Linked DNA regions of Homo sapiens: region 1 is linked to region 2. The links are contacts of gene promoters, found by promoter capture Hi-C in blood cells and fetal thymus (Javierre and others, 2016). All regions are on one chromosome and are shown on one strand. The core of a region is centred on a gene start or on the middle of the fragment in contact, and the rest is flanking DNA. Distances in the headings are between cores, read along the strand shown.

The links. The method cuts DNA at HindIII sites, captures the fragments that hold promoters and counts their contacts. A CHiCAGO score of 5 or more calls a contact.
Region 1: a contact is called between the fragment with the promoter of PRSS8 here and a fragment that was not itself captured in region 2, in 2 of 17 cell types (neutrophils and monocytes). The highest score is 6.0, in neutrophils.

What each region holds. Positions count from the first base shown.
Region 1 is chr16:31,133,778-31,138,521 of GRCh38, forward strand. It overlaps PRSS8 (serine protease 8), which reads right to left and starts at 1,950. Exons shown (of 6, transcript NM_002773.5): 1 at 1,637-1,950; 2 at 1,377-1,394. The coding sequence starts at 1,721. RefSeq lists enhancers at 65-1,011, 4,699-4,744. The HindIII fragment of the contact is 17,481 bases long and covers 1-4,744 here.
Region 2 is chr16:31,314,224-31,318,740 of GRCh38, forward strand. The region is part of intron 14 of ITGAM (integrin subunit alpha M); the gene reads left to right. Among named protein-coding and RNA genes, the nearest start is that of ITGAX, 39 kb to the right of the region's middle. The HindIII fragment of the contact is 2,960 bases long and covers 1,149-4,108 here.

The sequences.
Region 1 (4,744 bases), core at 700-3,199, 180 kb before region 2:
ACTTGTTTACCCGGGACCTTGGCTGATCCAGGTCACTCTACCTGGTATGCCCTTCCCCATCCTTACTGTCTGGCAAACTTCCCTTTGCCTGTGGATGCTTGATTGGAACAGCAGCCCCTCCGTAGACAGGCGGGCTTCTGCTGGCTGAGTTGGGCATTGCCTCCGAGCCCAGCACCCCCCAACCTCCACCATGCTCCCCGATGCTGCCCAGTCTCACAATTGTTCCGGAGTCCACAACTGTGTCTGTTTCCACCACACCAATCTGGGCATTCCCTAGGGGCAGATTCTCATGTCTGCAGTGCCTGTGGCGTCGTGGACATATATTCAACAAACCAACAGCAGAACTGGGCTCCTGTGATGTGAATGTCTAGTTTCCAGGACAGCCCCAGCCCCACCCCCATTGAGGCCACTTTGGAGTGGAGCCCAACTGCTCTTCACAAAGTCATCTAGGAGCAGAGAAAATTGCAGACCAGATCTTTCTCTCCCTTATCATCATGACAATAGCCACTATTTAGAGAGCCTAGCGGCTGTGCCAGGCCCTGGAGGGGCTTTCGCTTCCTCATCTCCCTGCATCCTCTCCACAGCCCCAGGAGACGGACATGACCAGCTTCATTTTAGAGGTGAGGAGTCTAAGGCTTAGAGAAGTGGGGGGACTTGGCCAATGACACACAGCCAGTGCATGGGGAAGCCAGGATTGAAAGCCGGTCTGACTCAGAGCTGGGTTGGGTGCCTTCCAAGAAAGGAGACCCTTGGTTTGGTTCCCTCAAAACCACCTCCAGGATGGGAACGGTGGCTCACACCTGTAATCCCAGCACTTTGAGAGGCCAAGGCAGGAGGATCGCTTGAGCCCAGGAGTTCAAGACCTGCCCGGCCAACATAGTGAGACCCACATCTCTACCAAACAAAAACAAAAACAAAAACAAAACACAACTAGCTGGGTGTGATGGCATGCACCTGTAGTCCCAGCCACTAGGGAGGCTGAGGTGGGGAGGTGGGAGGATCACGTGAGCCCGGGAGGCTGGATCACTGAGACTGCAGTGAGCTGCGATCGGGCCACTGCACTCCAGCCTGGGTGACGACAGACCCAGACCCTGTTTCAAAAGACAAAAACCAAACCAAAAAAACCACCTCGATTGCCCCACTTTGGGAGTCAGACGTGGATCTGAATCCCAGCTGCACCTTCACTGGCAGTGTGCCCTGGGCAAGTCCCTGCTTCTCTGCCCATAAGGTGAGGGCTAAAACCCCCCACTCTGGGAGCCCTAAGAGAATCTAGTTGGAAGGCAGCCCAGCTGAAGGCCAGGCACTGGTTAAACCCCAGGGGAATCCGATCCAAGTCACCTCCCCCTCCCCTCCTCCCTCTCCGAGGAAAGTCTCACCTTCTGCCCCTTCCGCTCCTAGAAAGAAAGAGAAAGAGGAGGGGTGAGTAGGGAAGACTCGGGTTCCCTGACCCCTTAGTACCCACCACTGCTCCAGAGGGCTGGCCCCTTCCCTGACAGAGCCAAGGTGGGAAAGAGAGGCCAAGAGCTAGGGAGGCCGGGGGTTTTCTTGGGCCCCAGACAAGGGCACACCCCAGAAAATGATCACGCCGGCTCCCTCCAGTGCATTGTCCCCACCCTGCCCCCACGTCCTCACTTACCTGTCCCCGACCGGAGTAATCCAAGATAGAGCAGAATGGCCACAGCCCCCAGCTGCCCAGGCCCCAGGACCCCCTTCTGGGCCATGGCCCAGGACAAGGGCCCCTGGGGCAGACTCCAGGCACGCAAGGTAGGAAGCCTTGGGGTGGTGTCGAAGGCAGGACCCAGATGTTGGCTCAGAGGGAAGGATCCCAGAATCCGGGCTGGAAAGGGGCAGCAAGTGTCCAAGGCTGGCCTCTAAGGCAGGGAGCGGCCGCAACGGGAGACGCCTGGAGTATCCGAAGCGAGCAGTGTGGACGAGTCACCAGCACCGTCTGGCCACGCAGGGTCCTCCCAGGAGTGGCTGCACCTACCTGCCCGCCCCTCCCCTGGCCCCGCCCACTGGCTGGGCTCCGCCAGCTCCTCTTGCCACCAAAGTCATGAGTCCTTTCAGAGCTGCAGGCCCGTGTGTGTGCATGTATGTGTCCGTGTGTATGTGTGTGCACATGCATAGGCCTTTTGTGTGTGTGTCCCGGTGTGTAGTGTGTATGTGGTGTGTGTGTATGCCTGTGTAGGCTGTGTGTGTCCTCTTATGTGGTGTGGTATGTGTGTGTGTGTGCATGTACAGGCTGTATGTGCACATGTGTAGGCTGTGTGTGTCCCTGTGTGTGTAGTGTGTGTGTCTGAGTGTGCGTGCATGCACGTGCATGTGGTTTGTGTGTGTGTGCAGTCTCCCTGGAATGTGACGACTCTCCTCCGCCTCAGGTCTTTCAGGTTATCTCAGGCCAGTTATGCCCCCCAGGGCCTGGCCCCAGCTTTTATTATCTGGAGCCACAGCCACTCCTCCCTTCTTCCCTCCCTCCTTAGGCTGGTTATGGGAGCTTAAGACACTATGGTCTGTCCCCTGCCAGGCCCTTTCTGCGATGCCTGCACCTCATGGGTGGTGGCGAGCTTGTGGAGCAGCACCAATCATCCCACAGACATTTCCTAAGTGCCTATGATGTTCCCAGGTGTCCAGGACAAAACAGGCACCAGCCCCGTCCCCCTTGAGCCCTGAGCTCATGGTGAAGTAGGGGTGACACACTTCAATCAAATAATCACAAACAGGCTGGCAAGGTGGCTAGTCGGCTTTGGGAGGCTGAGGCTGGAGCATCACTTGAAGCCAGGAGTTCCAGACCAGCCTGGGGAATATAGCGAGGCCTCATCTCTACAAAGAAATATAAAAATTAGGCAGGCATTGTGGCGCATGCCTATGGTTCCAGCTATTTGGGAGGCTGAGGCAGGAGGATTGCTTGAGCCCAGGAGTTCAACGAAGCATTGAGCTATGATCACGCCACTGCACTCCAGCCTGGGCAACAGAGGGAGACCCTGTCTTAAAAAAAAAAATTGCAATTACACAATAATTTCAAGCTAGGAATAGTGATGAAAAAGAATGGCGTGAGCACACCACAGCCTGGCAAAGGCTGGCATTGTGAAAGGGTCCTCGAGGAATTGCCTTGGAAACTGAGACCGAAAGGGATTATAAAAGGTGGTAAGGCGAAGATGGGGGGATGGGGTGCAGAGGGCAGAGGCTCAGGGAAAGAAGGCTTGCCGTGTGGCTGCGGTGGGAGTGAGGCATGTATCCTCCTTGAGGGCCACTCTGGCCGTTCAAAACACCTGTTGAGGCTGGGTGTGGTGGCTCACGCCTCTAATCTCGGCACTTTGGGAGGCCAAGGCACACGAATCACGAGGTCAGGAGTTTGAGACCATCCTGAACAACATGGTGAAACCCCATTTCTACTAAAAATACAAAAATTAGCCAGGCGTGGTAGCACGCACCTGTAATTCCAGCTACTCAGGAGGCTGAGGCAGGAGAATCGCTTGAACCCAGGAGGTGGAGGTTGCAGTGAGCCGAGATATTGCGCCATTGCACTCCAGCCTGAGCGACAGAGCGAGACTCCGTCTCAAAAAACAAACAAACAAAAAAAATTGTGGAGCTTGGATGTGGTGGCTCACACCTATAATCCCAGCACTTTGTGAGGCCAAGGTGGGAGGATCATTCTCAAGATCAGGAGTTTGAGACCAGCTTGGCCAACATGGTAAAACCCCGTCTCTCCTAAAAAATACAAAGAAAATTAGCCAGGCGTGGTGGCGCATACCTGTAATCTTAGCTACTCGGGAGGCTGAGGCAGGAGAATTGCTTGAACCTGGGAAGCCAAGATTGTGCCACTGCACTCCAGCCTGGGCAACAGAGGGAGACTCCATCTCAAAATAAATAAATAAATAAAATAAATAGGCCAGATGCAGTGGCTCACGCCTGTAAATCCCAGCACTTTGGGAGGCTGAGGTGGGCGGATCATCTGAGGTCAGGAGTTCAAGACCAGCCTGGCCAACATAGAGACACCCCACCTCTACTAAAAATACAAAAATTAGTTGGGCATGGTGGTGGGCACCTGTAATCCCAGCTTCTCAGGAGGCTGAGGCAGGAGAATTGCTTGAACCTGGGAGGTGAAGGTTGTAGTGAGCCGAGATTGCGCCATTGAACTCCAGTGTGGGCGACAATAGCAAAACTCTGTCTCAAAAAATTAAAAATAAATAAGTTAAATAAAAATACAAAAATTAGTCCGGCATGGTGTCTTGAGTCTGCAATCCTAGTTACTTGAGTCTGAGGCAGGAGGATCGCTTGAACCCAGGAGGTGGAGGTTGCAGTGAGCCGAGATTGCACCACTGCACTCCAGCCTGAGCATCAGTATGAGACTCTGTCTCAAAAAAAAAAAAGTGGAGATGGGGGTCTTGCTTTGTTGCCCGGGCTGGTCTGGAATGCCTGGCCTCAAGCGATCCTCCCAAAGTGCTGGGATTACAGGCATGAGCTGCCGCACCTCGTCTCTGGTTTTGCGTTACTTTTTAATTGTAGATTCATTGGCTGGAAACCACCTTCCCTTTTTCTGTGCTCAAACATCACTGCTATGACATCTTCCCAATCCCAGCCAGGGATGTCCACATGTGTCCCCACTAGATTGGGAGGACTTTGTGGGCTTATATATCAGACCCCAATTGTGCCACGACTTAGTAGCCACCAGGGAACACGGGTTGAATGAATGCAGGGAGGTGCAGGTAAGCAGTGGGTAAGGGAGTGAGGTTCACATATAAGG
Region 2 (4,517 bases), core at 1,379-3,878:
TTTAGTTTAATTAGATCTCATTTGTCAATTTTGGCTTTTGTTGCAATTGCTTTTGGTGTTTTAGTAAGGAAGATTTTGCCCATGCCTATGCCCTGAATGGTACTGCCTAGGTTTTATTCTAGGGTTTTTATGGTTGTAAATTTTACATTTAAGTCTTTAATCCATCTTAAGTTAATTTTTATATAAGGTGTAAGGAAGGGATCTAGTTTCAGTTTTTTGCATATGGCTAGCCAGTTTTCCCAGAAGCATTTATTAAATAGGGAATCCTTTCCCCATTTCCTGCTTTTGTCAGGTTTGTTGAAGATCAGATGGTTGTAGATGTGTGGTGATATTTCTGAGGCCTCTGTTCTGTTTCATTTGTCTATATATCTGTTTTGGTATCAGTACCATGCTGTTTTGGTTACTGTAGCCTTGTAGTATAGTTTGAAGTCAGGTAGTGTGATGCTTCCAGCTTTGTTGTTTTGCTTAGGATTGTCTTGGCTATATGGGCTCTTTTTTGGCTGCATATGAAATTTAAAGTAGTTTTCACAAGATCAGCTACAGCCAACTTTTACAGCAAACGGTTAGGCTGTTCCTCCTGTGGTAGTAGGAGGCAGGGTTTTTTTTTTTTTTTTTTTGAGATGGAGTCTCAGTCTGTCACCCAGGCTGGAGTACAGTAGCGTGAACTGCAACCTCTGCCTCCAGGTTCAGGTGATTCTCCTGCCTCAGCCTCCTGAGTAGCTGGGATTACAGGTGCCCACCACCACACCCAGCTAATTTTTGTATTTTTAGTAGAGATGGCATTTCACCATGTTGGCCAGGCTGGTCTCAAACTCCTGATCTCAAGTGATTCACCTGCCTCAGCCTCCCAAAGTGCTGGGATTACAGGTGTGAGTCACCGAACCCGGCCCTCTTTGCCCATTTTTAAATTGGGTTATTTATTTTCTTACTATTGAGTTCTTTATGTGTTATGGATATTAACCATTTATCAGTTGTGTGGTTTGCAAATATTTTCCCCCAGTCTGTAGGTTGTCTCTTCACTCTGTTAATTATTCCTTTATTGTGCAGAAGCTTTTTAGTTTGATGCAATTCCATTTGTCTGTTTTTGTTTTTGTTGCTTGTGCTTTCAGGATCATATAAAAAAATCATTGCCCAGACCAATGTCATGAAGCTTTCCCTCTACGTTTCCTTCTAATAGTTTATAGTGTTAGATCTTACATTTAAGCCTTTAACTCACTTTTTAATTTTTTTATTTTTTAATTTAATTTTATTTTAGATGGAGTCTCTCTCTATTGCCCAGGCTGGAGTGCAGTGGCACGATCTCAGCTCACTGCAACCTCCACCTCCCGGGTCCCAGCGATTCTCCTGCCTCAGCCTCCCAAGTAGCTGGGATTACAGGCCTCCGCCACCATGCCTGGCTACTTTTTTGTATATTTAATAGAGACGGGGTTTCACCATGTTGGCCAGGCTGGTCTTGAACTCCTGATCTAAGGTAATCCACCCGCCTCAGTCTCCTAAAGTGCTGGGATTACAGGCGTGAGCCACTGCACCCGGCCCAGCACTTTTGATTTTTGTATTTGGTTTGAGATAAAGGCTCAGTTTCATTCTTTTGCCTGTGGATATCCAGTGTTCTTAACACCATTTGTTAAAAAGACTGTCCTTTCCCCATTGTATGCCCTTGGCACCTTTGTTGAAAATTAGTTGATTGTTGGCCGGGCGCGGTGGCTCATGCCTGTAATCTCAGCACTTTGGAAGGCTGAGGCGGGTGGATCATGAGGTCAGGAAATCGAGACCGTCATGGCTAACAAGGTGAAACCCCGTCTCTACTAAAAATACAAAAAATTAGCCGGGCGCGGTGGCGGGCGCCTGTAGTCCCAGCTACTCGGGAGGCTGAGGCAGGAGAATGGCGTGAACCCGGGAAGCAGAGCTTGCAGTGAGTCGAGATTGCGCCACTGCAGTCCGCAGTCCGGCCTGGGCGACAGAGCGAGACTCCGTCTCAAAAAAAAAAAAAAAAAAAAAAAAAAAAAAAAAAAAAATTAGCCAGGCATGGTGGTGGGCACCTGTAGTTCCAGCTACTCGGGAGGCTGAGGCAGGAGAATGGGGGAACCTGGGAGGAAGAGGTTGCAGTGAGCCTACATCATGCCACTGCACTCCAGCCTGGGTAACAGAGCAAGACTCCGTCTGGAAAAAAAAAAAAAAGAAAAGAAAATTAGTTGATTGTAAATGCATGGGTTCATTTCTGAGCTCTGTATTCTGTTCCATTGGTCAATGTCTCTGTTTTTATGTCAGTGTCATGCTGTTTTGCTGAGTATACCTTTGTGGTGTATTTTGATGTCAGGTAGTGTGATACCTCTACCTTTGTTGTTTATGCTCAAGATTGTCTTGGATATTTGAGGTCTTTTGTGACTTCATATTAATTTTAGTATTGTTTTTTCTATTTCTGTAAGAAATGCCATTGGGATTTTGGTAGGAATTACATTGACTCTATCGATCACTTTGAATAGTATGGACCTTTAAAAATATTCTTTCAATCCATAATATGGGATATCTTTCCATTGATTTTTGTCTTAACTTTCTTTCGTCAATGTTTTATAGTTTTAGTGTGCATATTTTTCACCTTCTTGGTTAAATTAACTTGTAAGCATTTTATTTTTTGATGCCATTGTAAATAGGATTAATTTCTTTTTCAGATAGTTTGTTGTTAGTGTATAGAAACAAATAATTTTTGTATGTTCATTTTGTATTCCATGACTTTACTAAATTTGTTTATTAAATTTGATAACTTTTTCGTAGAGTATTTATAACAAGTTTCTTATATATAAGATCATGTCAATTGCAAACAGGGACAATTTTTTTTTCTTTATTTCTAACTTGAATGCATTTCTTATCTTTTTCTTGCCCAATTGCTCTGGCTAGGACTTTCAGTACTGTGTTGAAATAGAAGTGGTGAGTGTGGGCATCCTTGCCTTGTTCCTAATTTTAGTGGTAAAATCAAATTTTCACCACTGGGTATGATGTTAACTAGACACTTTTTTTAATGTTCTTTATCATGTTGATGTAATTTCCCTGTATTTCTAGTTTGTTGAGGGTTTTTAATCATGAGTGGCTATTCCTGTGGCCTGAATGTTTGTGTCCTCCCCAGATTCATATGTTGAAGCCTAATTCCTTGTGTGATGGTATTTGTAGATGGGACCTTTGGAAGGTGTTTAGGTCATGAGAGTGTGGCCATCATTAATAGGATTAGTGCCCTTAGACAAAAGCAAAATGATGGTTGCCTATGAACCAGAAAATAGGCTCTCACCAGATATTGAATCTGCTTGCACCTTGATTTTGGATGTCACAAGTCTTCAGAACTATGAGAAATAAATTTCTATTGCTTATAACCCATCCAGTCTATGTTATTTGTTATACCAAATAAGCTAAGACAGATGTTTAGTTTTATTAAATGCTTTCTTTTCTTATTGATAAGATCATGTTATTTTTATTCCTTATTCTGTTAATGTGGTGCATCACATTTATTGATTTGCATATGTTGAGCCATCCTTGCATGCCAGGAATAAAGCCCACATGGTCATGGCGTATGACCCTTTTGTGCTATTGAATTCAGTTTGCTAGTATTTTATTTAGGATTTTGGATCTATGTTCAATAGGGAAATTGGCATGTAGTGATCTTTTCTCATGGTGTGTTTGTTGGGATTTAGTGTCAGGATAGTGCTTGCCTCATACAATAAGTTTGGAAGTATTCCCTCCTCTTCAGTTTTTTGGATGAGTTTGAGAAGAATTCATATTAATTCTTATTTAAATGTTTGGTTGGTAGAATTTGCCTGAGAAGCCACCAGGTCCTGGGCTTTTCTTTGTTAGGAGGTCTTTGATTACTGATTCAATTTCCTTACTCATTATAGATCTGTTTAAACTTTCTATTGCCTTATGATTCAGGCTTGGTAGGTTGTATATTTCTAGGAATTTATCCATTCCTTCAAGGTTATCAAGTTTGTTAACATATAATTGTTCATAGTAGTCTCTTAATGATCCTTTTTATTGCTATGGCATCAGTTGTATGTTCTTTCATTTATAATTTTACTTATCTGTTGTTTCTGTTTTTTCTCCCTTTTTCCTTGGTCTACCTAAAAGCTTGTCAGTTCTTTTTTTTTTTTTTTTTGAGATGGAGTCTCACTCTGTTGCCCAGGCTGGAGTGCAGTGGCATGATCACAGCTCACTGCATTCTCCACCTCCCAGGTTCAAGTGATTCTCCTGCCTCAGGCTCCTGAGTAGCTGGCATTACAAGCACGTGCCACCACACCTGGCTGATTTTCGTATTTTTAGTAGAGACAGGGTTTCACCATGATGGCCAGGCTGGTTTTGAACTCCTCATCTCAGGTGATCCACTTGCCTCGACATCCCAAAGTGCTGGGATTGCAGGCGTGAGCCACTGCACCTGGCCAAAGCTTGTCAATTCTATCTTTTTGAAAAATCAACTTAATTTCATTGATTTTTTTCTATTCTCTATTTGATTTATTTTTCTGTAATCTTTATTATTT